Regions from separate parts of the Homo sapiens genome. Here all the other regions are linked to region 3. The links are contacts of gene promoters, found by promoter capture Hi-C in blood cells and fetal thymus (Javierre and others, 2016). All regions are on one chromosome and are shown on one strand. The core of a region is centred on a gene start or on the middle of the fragment in contact, and the rest is flanking DNA. Distances in the headings are between cores, read along the strand shown.

Region 1 (3,592 bases), core at 958-3,457, 81 kb after region 3:
AGCCAGTGGCCACATTAAACTACATCATCTAGGGAGGATCCGTACCCTACCTTTGGTTTTGCCTTTATTGACATGTAACTTTGGATTAATGATGTAACCTCTTTAACTTTCGATTCCCATTTGTAAATGTGAGTGAGGTGTTTCACGGGTAACCTGGAAACTTGTTAAAATGAAATGAAATAAAAGATGCAAAACTGCTTTTTTGACTGTAAAACTCTACACCAGGGTAAGGTTACTTTTTAAAAATTTCCAATTATACATTTAATATTTATTATTCATTACAACAACTCCAAAGATCAAAAGTGCATGAAATTAAAAAAAATTCCTGCACCAATCTTAGTCCTCAGAAGGGACCACATTTGATAATTTAGTGCTTACCTTTCTACACTTTATGAATGTGTGTGCATGTGTGTGGGGGCTGGTCGGTGGGGTTAACAAAAAAGGGATAATATCCTACTAACCAGTAAAATACTAAGTAGCAATTTTTTAAATGAGGTAAATTGTCAGATACTGACATGGAATAATTGTACTTTATGTGTAAAAGTTACAGAACAACACTTATGATAGAGTTTATGCAGACACAGAGTTTATACATGGCTACTTCTGAGAAGAATATATTGCAAAGGAATGAGGTAATTTTATTTTACTTCTCACCATTCTCTACCATTACAATTATTTTCTTAAGCATATATATTTTCACAATAATTATTAAGGACTGTGCAAGAGGAGGTGGAGCATAAATCAAAACAATGGAGACAATATGATACTACTGAAGATGCAAGTATAAGTGATAGAACATAAAAAAAGTTTTGAAAGGAAAGAATATACAAAAAGATATTGGAGGCTGGGCGCAGTGGCTCACATCTGTAATCCCAGCACTTTGAGGCTGAGGCAAGCAGATTGCTTGAGCCCAGGAGTTCGAGACCAGCCTGGGCAACATGGTGAAACCCCATTTCTACAAAAAGTACAAAAATTAGCTGGGCATGGTGGCACATGCCTGTGGTCCCAGTTACTCAGGAGGCTGGGGTGGGAGGATCACTTGAGTCAGGGAGGCAGAGTTTGCGGTGAGCCAAGATCTTGCCACTACACTCCAGCCTGGGTGACAGAGTGAGATCCTGTCTCAGACGAAAAAGGAAGCAGCAATTGGAAAATGAAATAAAGGAAGTAAAAATGAAACTAGGTATGATATGATTTTCAAAAGCATTCTTTTAGGGAATGAAAAAAAGCTGATCACGCTGTTTCTGCTGCCAACTTTCTTGTTACGCATGACTCTCAACAACAGGATATTCTGCCCTGTAGGTTAGTTCTTTTTAACGGCCTTATGCAGAAAAAGGTAAACAGAAATCAGCATAAGCTTCTGCCAAAAGAGGAAGAAGGGCTAAATATGACCAGTGCTCAATTATTTTATAGTTTAAAGTTTTTTTATCTCATATTTTAAAATTCAGAAAACAGCCACAAATTTGGGGAATGGGCAGGAATGACAAGCTAATGGAAGGCAAGGATCGCTGAAAAGTCCCGGCATTATAAAGTTACAGAATTTTATCCGTAGATATAATTGCTCTCACCGTCTTTAGAGACTTTCTATCAACAAATCCTGCCACATCTATGTACAAAGTCTACCTTGAATCTATCTACTTTTTCCATTTTGGTCCCCATCCACTCAGTTCAAGTTCACTCCCACCTATTTCCACTGTAGTGGCCTCCTGATTAGTCTCTCTCCTTCTACCCTGGCTCTCCTGCTTCCCATGTCATTCCTTTTCTCTCAAGGAAAGCAAACCATCTTCCTAAAATGCTCATATGATGAAAACCAAAATCCTTCTCATGGTTTCCAGGCACTGCACACTCAGTCCCTTGCTCATTTTTTTCAGTCGCCTTTCAGGTTTCCAACTCTGCTAACATCTTTTTCTCCCTAGTCTTTGCACATACTGTTCCTTCAGTAGGACTGAAATGCTCCTTCTTGCTACCCTACAGGATTCAGTTTTCAAAAAGTTTCCTCAAATCCCTTCTCCCCTAATCTAAATCAGGTCACAATTTGCATTTCTTTGTATGGTATTGGTTTTATCTGTATGACTGAAATGCTCCTTCTTGCTACCCTACAGGATTCAGTTTTTAAAAAGCTTCCCCAAATCCCTTCTCCCCTAATCTAAATCAGGTCACAATTTGCATTTATTTGTTTGGTATTGGTTTTATCTGACTTCCCAACTCTGTTGAAGCTGTGTAACAACTACTTGGAGGCTCATAAAACTATCCTCTCTACTTTTGTGTTTAGTTTATATTTACCATAACATATAAGCTTTAACACTTTTCCTCTGATCCTATAAACTAAAAACAACACTTGTTGCCTGCAATTCTCTTAACTACTTTTTCAAATTTCGTATTTTACAAAGTTTATTTTCCTTTTCATGATTAATTTATTATTGTAACCCTATTAGAGTCATAAAATGCTCTAATTTTTGAATGACCACAGCAGGCTCGACTAGAAGCCCAATGTGCCATCAATTGTGCTATAGAACCAGCTAGAATGCCGTAATTTTAAAGTTCCTAACAAGATGTTGTGGGCAAGAAAATGAACTTGAAATTAACATCAGATAACCTAACAGAAATGTCTGAAGTTCAATTGTTCTGCCACTGTTTTTGCTCCAAAAGTCTTTTATTTGAAAAGGACTCTAGAACAAGGATATAAGACTTCTTTTAGTTCTAGCTTTTACTTTGGATGAATCACTTTCTTTTTTTGTTTGTTTTAAATAATATTATAAAGAGGTTAAGCTCTATATTTTAATTTCAGATATAAAATTCCACAATTTGGAAGAAAAAAAGCACTCAAAAAATACCAATGTTTATTTTTTAATAAAGCAATAATTCAAAACAATTTTTTTTTCTACTCATTCAAAAGGTCATAACTCAGGAGTGCTGTTTATACCAGATGAATCTACAAAGCCAAGAACAGGAATCACCGTATCTCCTTCAGTAGACCTGATACTGTGAGTCTTCTCTTTTCTGTTGACATATTTGTGCAACATGCTGTAGTACTGGCCCTTCGGATTGAAAGTATACAGTGATGAAATTTGCTGCCACTCTTTCATGCTTGGAGTGTTATATTCTTTTGGATGCGAGCCCTCAAAGAAACATTTAATATTCTCTTTTGCCAATTCAGTTGCATGCTCTGTGGCTTTACTTTTAAGGATCTGCTGCTCCTGTTCCAAATAGATTTTCCAGAATTTCAGCTGCAGAAAACTAACTGGAGATAGGCATCGGGTGACAGATGTAAAAATCAGAAGAATGATGATAACAACTGCTATCAAGATCCAGCCCAACACCTTAAGAAAACACAACAAAATAGTAATTTAGTTACTTGGTTTTTTACAAGAAATTTAAAAATCCTCAGATAAAGTTTCAACTACTCGCCAGTTATGATGATGAACAAGCAACAGTTTTAGGTCTTAATTCCTTAAGAGTAAGGTGTCGCAGTAACCTCCCTAGCCCCCCAGTACAACTTCTCGTTTGGAAAGTCAACTGTAGTCCAAGTTATGCACTATGATTCTGCCCAGGGAGGAGCCCATACCATTCCCTTAGAACTCAAAATGTGGAATTT
Region 2 (4,016 bases), core at 499-2,998, 120 kb before region 3:
CTGTCTGAAATGCTATTTCCCCTGTTGGTGTAAGGTTTGTTCATCAGCACACTCAACCCTTCATCAAGACCTTTTCTAAACATTCGTATCTCTATAATCCAGTTTTCTTTTCTTTCTTTCTTTCTTTTTTTTTTTTTTTTTTTGAGACTCAGTCTCAAAAATCTATTGCTCTGTCACTCAGGCTGGAGTGTAGTGGCACGATCTCAGCTCGCTGCAACCTACGCCTCCCGGGTTCAAGCAATTCTCCTGCCTCAGCCTCCCGAGTAGCTGGGATTACAGGCACCTGCCACCACGCCCAGCTAATTTTTGTATTTCTAGTAGAGACGGGCTTTCACCATGTTGGCCAGGCTGGTCTTGAACTCCTGACCTCAAATGATCTGCCCGCCTCGGCCTCCCAAAGTGCTGGGATTACATATGTGAGCCACTGAGCCTGGCCAATCCAGTTTTATTTTCTTCATAGCACTTATCATGATCAGTTAATTTACTTTTTATTTCCTCTACCTCACCAGCATGTAAGCCTCAAAAATCCTGAATTTTGTGTATTTTGATTACTGCTGCAGCTCCTGTTGCAAGCAAAACGCCTTTCTAATAGACACTCTTTAAATATTTGTTGAATGAAATAAAGCCTGAATGACAAGATATTTGTGATTTTGGGCTAACATGGTGGCTCACACTTTGGGAGGCCGAGATGGGAGGATCATTTGAGGCCAGGAGTTCGAGGCTGCGGTGAGCTATTTTAGCCACTGTGCTCTGGCCTGGGTGACAGAAAGAGTCCTCCTCTCTAAAAATACATACATACGGCCGGGCACGGTGGCTCACGCTTGTAATCCCAGCACTTTGGGAGGCCGAGGGGGGCGGATCACGAGGTCAGGAGATCGAGACCATCCGGGATAACACGGTGAAACCCCATCTCTACTAAAAATACAAAAAATTAGTCAGACGTGGTGGCGGGCGCCTGTAGTCCCAGCTACTTGGGAGGCTGAGGCAGGAGAATGGCGTGAACCCGGGAGGCGGAGCTTGCAGTGAGCAGAGATGGCACCACTGCACTCCAGCCTGGGCGACAGAGCAAGACTCCGTCTCAAAAAATATATATATATACATACATACATACATACAAACCAAGATATTTGTTATCTTGTAACCTTGAGGAAAGAACCTGGTATCCTTTACCTTCGGTGCATAGCTGGGAGCTTGATACCTAGCAGCATTATAAACCCTTTATTGATACTAAAATAGAGTGCTACTCAGCAGGCCCTAGTGTAGACTGCTATTTGCCCCAGGACCTGCCCTGTGAACTCATTCAGATTAAGTATGAATGACCTCAGAGCCCGGTTTTCTCTCCTAGCAATTGAGTGGCAGGAAACTCGATGGGAGAAGGAAAAACTCGGAAATGGGAGGAATGCAAAAATGACTACATCTCTCAGGAGATCGAGACCATCCTGGCTAACACGGTGAAACCCCGTCTCTACTAAAAATACAAAAAATTAGCCAGGCATGGTGGCGGGCGCCTGTAGTCCCAGCTACTCGGGAGGCTGAGGCAGGAGAATGGCGTGAACCCGGGAGGCGGAGCTTGCAGTGAGCCGAGATCGCGCACTGCCCTCCAGCCTGGGCAGCAGAGCGAGACTCCGTCTCAAAAAAAAAAAAAAAAAAAAAAGACTACATCTCCCAGAATGCACTGCATAGAGACCGGCGTGGAGCGGCGCATTCTGGGATTACTTCTTTTCCGTGGGAGTAAGGAAGTGCTTTTGAATGAGGTACTGAGGGCCAAGGTGTTGGAAGTTCCTAATTCTTTCCTCGGTTAACTGTGAAACTCTGCGTATTGGGAAGGCCTGGCCTCAGTCATCAGGCCAGGAGAGGTACTGGACGCCGCGCACGCACTCGTCTGCCAGCGAGGCCCAAAGGGGAAGCCTAGCGGAGCTCAGTGTGGCAGCTGCTGGCCTCTGGGCCGGTAAGAATTGATGGTCCCCTCCCTTATTCCCCAGGCCCAAAGCTTTGACCCAGTTAGTGCCTGCTAGTTTCGTGTGCCTGGCTTGTGCCTTTGGCGCGGAACGTTTGGGAGACTCGGCCTTGCGGTCTTCTGACCTCACCCACCACGTACCTAGCTTGGCACTGGGTCCTTCATGCCTCTCACTCGCTTCCTCTGAGGCACCTGGGTACTCTCTTGTCTCTTACCCGCTTAATCTGAGTCCATGTCCAAGTTCATCATTCTGTGTCTGACCGTGTCCCAGCCACCGGAAGAGAAGAAACTCCGGGTGTGACATTAATCCCACTGGGGGCTCGGGAGAACTGCCTTCTAAAATCAGAGACTGTATCCATTTGTCTGGAGAGAAATGAAAAAAATAAGGACAATGTAGGGAGGTATTTTAAAGGTAAATTTATTTAAATGAAGTGATAGTGTCATTACTTTTCCTGTTTGATTTTAAATAGTCTTTAGCTGAACGATGACCTGTAGTAGGAAGGTGGTGGCGAAGTGATTGCTTTTTTTAAAATTATTTTTTTAACACTTTTATGTCAGTAGTCAGTACTTTATTTGTCCATAAAATCCAAAAATAACTACCTTTGGATTTTACAGTAGTCTTTGACTGAACCTCAGAGAGATGAGATTCCTTACCCAAAATGATGAATCTGAAATTATTACCCAGTTCTCTTGACTCTGGAATAAGTGCTTTTTTCTACTATACCACTTCTGCTTTTATTCTTGGGGCTGAGAGTACAGGCTGTGGAGCACGACGGGGTTGGCATTTTGGCTTCCACCTTTTTCTGCTTGTGGTGACCTGTCTGAGCCAGAATTTCTTTATGTGTAGAGCGATAATAATAGTACTTAAATTACAATAATAGCACTTAAATAGCACTTGATACATGTAAGACTCTAAGTTTACAGTGTTAAACTCTACTTGTAAGATGTGTTTATTTACCTCCTCAATATAATCAGCTTCAGTATTCAGTATTTAGATATATCAGTTGATAAATAGGTTTCTTCTCTTCATTTTTTTCTTACCTGATTTATCTTACCTGGACAATTTTTTAAACGTTATTTTTTCTCCACCTTGGGCCAGAGACATTTTTTGAAATATTTTATTTTTAAAATTACTTGTATTCATTATTATTGCCTTTTTTTAAAAAAAAATAAATGAAATTTTGGTTGATATTTATAAATAAGTTTTTGTATTTGAGGAACAGTAAGTACATTGAAAACTTCTTCATCAAAATAATCCAGCGTTAAAGACCAAGTAATTGTCTCAAATCATTTTATGAAACACATTTTTTCTTCAAATCTTTGAAACCTAATGTTATGTTCTTTTCTAGCTACTTGTCAATACCATGCTTTCCTGTAATATTTGTGGTGAAACAGTAACCTCAGAACCAGACATGAAAGCTCACCTAATTGTTCACATGGAAAGTGAAATTATATGTCCATTTTGCAAGTTGTCAGGTGTGAATTATGATGAAATGTGTTTTCATATCGAAACAGCTCATTTTGAGCAGAATACACTTGAAAGAAACTTTGAGAGGATAAATACAGTACAATATGGAACTTCAGATAACAAGAAAGACAACACCCTACAGTGTGGAATGGAAGTTAATTCAAGTATTCTTTCAGGTTGTGCATCTAATCATCCAAAAAATTCAGCTCAAAACCTGACTAAAGATAGTACTTTAAAACATGAAGGCTTCTATTCAGAGAACTTAACTGAATCTAGAAAATTCCTGAAAAGTAGGGAAAAACAGTCCAGCCTGACCGAAATAAAAGGATCTGTTTATGAAACAACATACAGTCCTCCTGAATGTCCATTCTGTGGAAAAATAGAGGAGCACAGTGAAGATATGGAAACTCATGTGAAAACAAAGCATGCCAATCTTTTAGACATTCCATTGGAAGGTAAAGTTTTCATTTCATTATAAATTATAAGTTTACAGCCTCAATTTAATATGTGGTATTTTAAAAGTTGGTTTGTAAGTCAGCTTACTACAGATGTGTTTTGAAATCCATTTTATGTCTATAACATTTTTCATTT
Region 3 (4,053 bases), core at 931-3,430:
ACTGAAGAATGTGTCTTTCTCCTAACCCCAGTTCCAGATTTAGTCCTAACAAGACTAAAGAACTCTTAGTAAAACAGGAAAAACTTTGCTTATGCATTATCTTGGAATAATTCTTTCCTAGTTGGCTGCCAGGGCAGACATTATAGATCATGTACCCGCTTGAAACATCATCTCTGTGCTTTCTTCTATTTAAGGGAGGAGTACATTTACATTAAAAAAGGAGTCTGGGGAACACAGGGCTCACTTGCATCCTAAGAGCTGCTGAAGACTAGCAGGTTTCATAGACTGAAAACCAGCAAACCAGTGTCCCCTGTGATGATGAGTACAGCTGTGGTCGTGAAGGTTGTGCTTTGTACAGTAGCACCTGGCAGGGGCTCTGCTCCTTCCTTAAGCTCGTGTCTTGACTGGAAGGTCAATGGAGCAGAGGGGAGCCATGTCAGTCTGAAGTAAAAGCCGGCTTTTTCTAATACATCCAATGACATCCCGAATTCTCCCGATGGCCATAATGTGACCATACCACAGCCATTAGAGTTTGGTGAAATTGATTCCAGTACCGCCATCACCTCGCAGCAAGCACACAGGCCCTTTGTAGGTTATTCTCTGGGGTATCTTACTCAGAACTAGGATTGCCCACAAATTGACCCAGCAACATGCTGTCCCTGCACCTTAGTAAGCTTTTTGAGTCTGCCTCTAAAATAGTTTGCTCTAACATAATTAGAGTGTGTGCGGTACAAAATAAATTTGACTTGGAATCATCAAAATTAGCCCAAATCCCTTCTTGTTGCCAACATCCAGATAACCTTGAATACATTTCTCAACCTCTCTACTTTTAGATTCTTATCCTGTAAAATGGCCATGATTACAGTACTATTTCACAGATTGTATCTGAATTAAAATGAGATGAAGAGAACGAAAACCATGTTGTAAACTGTAAATTTGATATACATATAAGTCGTTATTATTTGCTACTGAAAAACTCTCCACCCCATACCCCACAACTAAGTGAAATTAATTTTCCTGAGATCATAGTGTCATAGAACATATGCAGTGATGGAAATGCCTTAGGTATTGTAGAATTCCATTCAATTTATCCAACCACAAGAATAACCTATAGTAACTAGTTATTATATGGTGCATTTTAATGTGTTTTACGGTACGCCTCGTCTCTTTGGTTCTCACAATTATTCTGTGAGGTGAGTGATATTGTTGCCATTTTGCAAATGTGGAAACTGAGTCATAGAGCAATAAAATGGCTTGCCCAATGCCACACAGCCAGTAAATGGTAGGGCTGCAACAGCCTGAGCCTTCCAAATCCTCCTAGGTTCTTTCAACTACACCACACTTTTCGTCAAAGTATTCTTGAGTTTGTCACTTTATAGCAAGAATTTTCCAGAACAAATAGGACTAATGGACTCAAACTATAAGTAGAAGAAAATTACTTTCCTAAACTGAGTTTTCCGCTTCCATTTCTGGAAAGATTTTGATCCTACTCTGCACCCTGCAGTTGTCAAGGTGAAAGGATTTTTTTATTTGAACTTTAAGTATTTCTGCGTAAATAAAGAGAGCCTTCAATAGCTTACGTCTCAGGAGCTCTCAAAAGAAAGCTAAGGGCTTACTTTCTCTATCAGAATCATTATACATTATGATACTGTAGAGCGCCCATTTTGAACAACAGTTTTGTAAGAAAATATTGCCCATTCTATCACTCCTTAATGTTGTTGATTGCTGCTAATGAAAAGCAAAAAAGTTACCAGATATATTTGAATACTGTAATCACACAAGATAGGGATCTATGGTTTTGGGGACAGTGTGATAACCATTGGTGTAGTTGAGGGATCACGTTTTAACTCAGGATTTATTACCTACAGATTGCTGATCTTGTCTCTCTAATTCTTACAACAATCAATCCAAGACTGAATAATGCTAACATTTAGATCTATCTTGGATTGCGAAGGTTTCTGTTTCTGATTTTAAAACAATGTCTTGGCCTGAGAACAAAACACCACTCTTGAACTCCCTCGGGCTAAAGAATTTTTTGAGTTGCAGTGCTTCAGGTCTGACTTCACATTATCAGCTTTTATGGCTCTAGATTACAATTCATCCTTACAAATGAAGCAGTTATTTGATCCATGGCAAGTTACGTGGCTATAAGACAATCCTGTTGTTCATGGTTTTTTTCCCTCTTCAGCTCAGCAAAGAGCAAAAGCAGCAGAGTGCAGAAGCAGCACTCCTGTCTCAAAGCGAGGAAGAGCTTACAAAAACAAAACAAAAAGACATGGACTGATACACCTCTAAGAAACAGGCAAAAGAAGAGAAATTGAAGATCATATTCTTCATCTATCAAGCACTATGTCTCGCCCTGCACACCGAAGACCAGAATACCATAAAATAGTAAGATCTTTCTACAAAGAGATTTTTTCTACTTCAGAGAAAATGTTTTCTTGAGTGATTTCTGATTGATTTTAAAAACTGATGCTATAAGAATTTTTAGTGGAGGAAAGACAGTGTTCAGCGAAGTGAATCATAAATGACACATCTAGGAATAATTATGATTATCTCCTACATAAAGAATAATCAATTCTTTATACACACTTTAAGGTCTTCTTTTCTGACTAATTATATCAATATGAGTGTCAATTTTTTCACCTCTGACAGAAAATATGAAAATATTAGCAATTTTTTCTATTTCATACTTCAGGAAATGGGAACTTACATATATATGTATATGTATATATATGTATGTATGTATATATATATGTGTGTATATATATAGTTGATTATGTGTAAAACTGAATCGAAATAGGTCATCAAAAAAGGATTGCCTTTAAAAATGTTTCCTAGTCTTATTGTAGCTTGGTATGTAATATCATCCTTTCTATATATTCCAGGTTAAGAGTTATTTATAAACCTTATTTTTTTGCAGATTAGTTTTAAATAATATTCTTTAATACTCTCTTATAGTTTTAGTCACTCAGATACTACAGATACAAAAACTCACTGTTAACTTTAAAATTCTGTTAATTATGTCAGGAGACTGATGGGCATTTGATATAATTAAGTAATTTCAGACTTGGTGTTTAGAATTGTAGTGACTAACTAGCATACTTCAGTTTGAAATGCCTGCAGATACCTCCTCTGGCCTTCTGGGATCTTGATTTATTTTCCTGTGGGACTCTCAAGTGCTAAAAATATATGGTACATAGTTCATATTATACCGAAATCACTTGATTTTATAAAGCAGTTAAAATGTATTTTTATCCTGATACATTCATAACCTACTGAAATAGTTAATGATGTTCTTTCAGATATTCATATGATTATTTTTATTGTTTTAAAAACGATAAAGATAAACTTATGTTGACCTTTCCTGGCATCTGTGGTATGGATTTGAGACCCAATTGAACAGATAGTTCAAGGTACAGTCCTTGGCCATGAAGCAGAATAGAGAAAGCTGGCCTTTATGGGTACTGAACCAGAAACTCAGCTGGAAATAAAATAGATTTCAATATATAATAGTGCCCACCCATCAGGGACAGAGAAGAAATTCCACTATTTCAGTTTGGCCTTAATTATAAAGGGACACAATGTTGGGGCCATGGCATGTAGGTAGGGTATGATTTTTTCTACTTTTCTCTTTTTCAAATTCTTTTGTTTTACTGCTAGTCACAACAATCTCATCATTCTCTCTCTCTCTCTCTCTCTCTCTCTCTCTTCTTCACCTTTGCTTATCTTTATGCTGTAGCATTAGTACATGGCAGCACTTTGTCTTCTGCTGTGGCTCTTATATGTTGAGCAGACTTTTCATTGATAATTTACCAGCATTTCTTGTGATTTATTATTAGGTTCTTGGAAAAACCCTAAGCCAAACCTAAATTGTCTTAAGTTTTAGTTTTCATTTATAATTTACTCTAAAAATGGGACATATTTTGGAGAACTATAAGGAAATATCACATTCCCCTTTTTTCTCTAAGTAAAAAGAAAAGAAACTCACAAATTTGCTGCTACATTTGGGTTTATCCTGAAGGTCTCCTTGGCAGATCTGGGGGCCATTAG

The links. The method cuts DNA at HindIII sites, captures the fragments that hold promoters and counts their contacts. A CHiCAGO score of 5 or more calls a contact.
Region 1: a contact is called between a fragment that was not itself captured here and the fragment with the promoter of TRAPPC3L in region 3, in 4 of 17 cell types (naive B cells, total B cells, monocytes and 1 more). The highest score is 11.0, in naive B cells.
Region 2: a contact is called between the fragment with the promoter of ZUP1 here and the fragment with the promoter of TRAPPC3L in region 3, in 10 of 17 cell types (fetal thymus, non-activated CD4 T cells, total CD4 T cells and 7 more). The highest score is 7.2, in fetal thymus.

Annotation. Positions count from the first base shown.
Region 1 is chr6:116,463,008-116,466,599 of GRCh38, reverse strand. CALHM6 (calcium homeostasis modulator family member 6) reads right to left here. Exons shown (of 3, transcript NM_001010919.3): 3 at 2,829-3,317. The coding sequence ends at 2,895. CALHM6-AS1 (CALHM6 antisense RNA 1) reads left to right here and starts at 2,896. Exons shown (of 2, transcript NR_174951.1): 1 at 2,896-2,981. The HindIII fragment of the contact is 176 bases long and covers 2,120-2,295 here.
Region 2 is chr6:116,666,498-116,670,513 of GRCh38, reverse strand. It overlaps ZUP1 (zinc finger containing ubiquitin peptidase 1), which reads left to right and starts at 1,748. Exons shown (of 10, transcript NM_145062.3): 1 at 1,748-1,948; 2 at 3,307-3,880. The coding sequence starts at 3,322. RefSeq lists an enhancer at 1,724-1,913 and a silencer at 2,675-2,824. The HindIII fragment of the contact is 3,066 bases long and covers 1-1,992 here.
Region 3 is chr6:116,543,811-116,547,863 of GRCh38, reverse strand. TRAPPC3L (trafficking protein particle complex subunit 3L) reads left to right here and starts at 2,180. Exons shown (of 5, transcript NM_001139444.3): 1 at 2,180-2,391. The coding sequence starts at 2,350. It also overlaps a transcript of CALHM4 not described here. The HindIII fragment of the contact is 9,007 bases long and covers 677-4,053 here.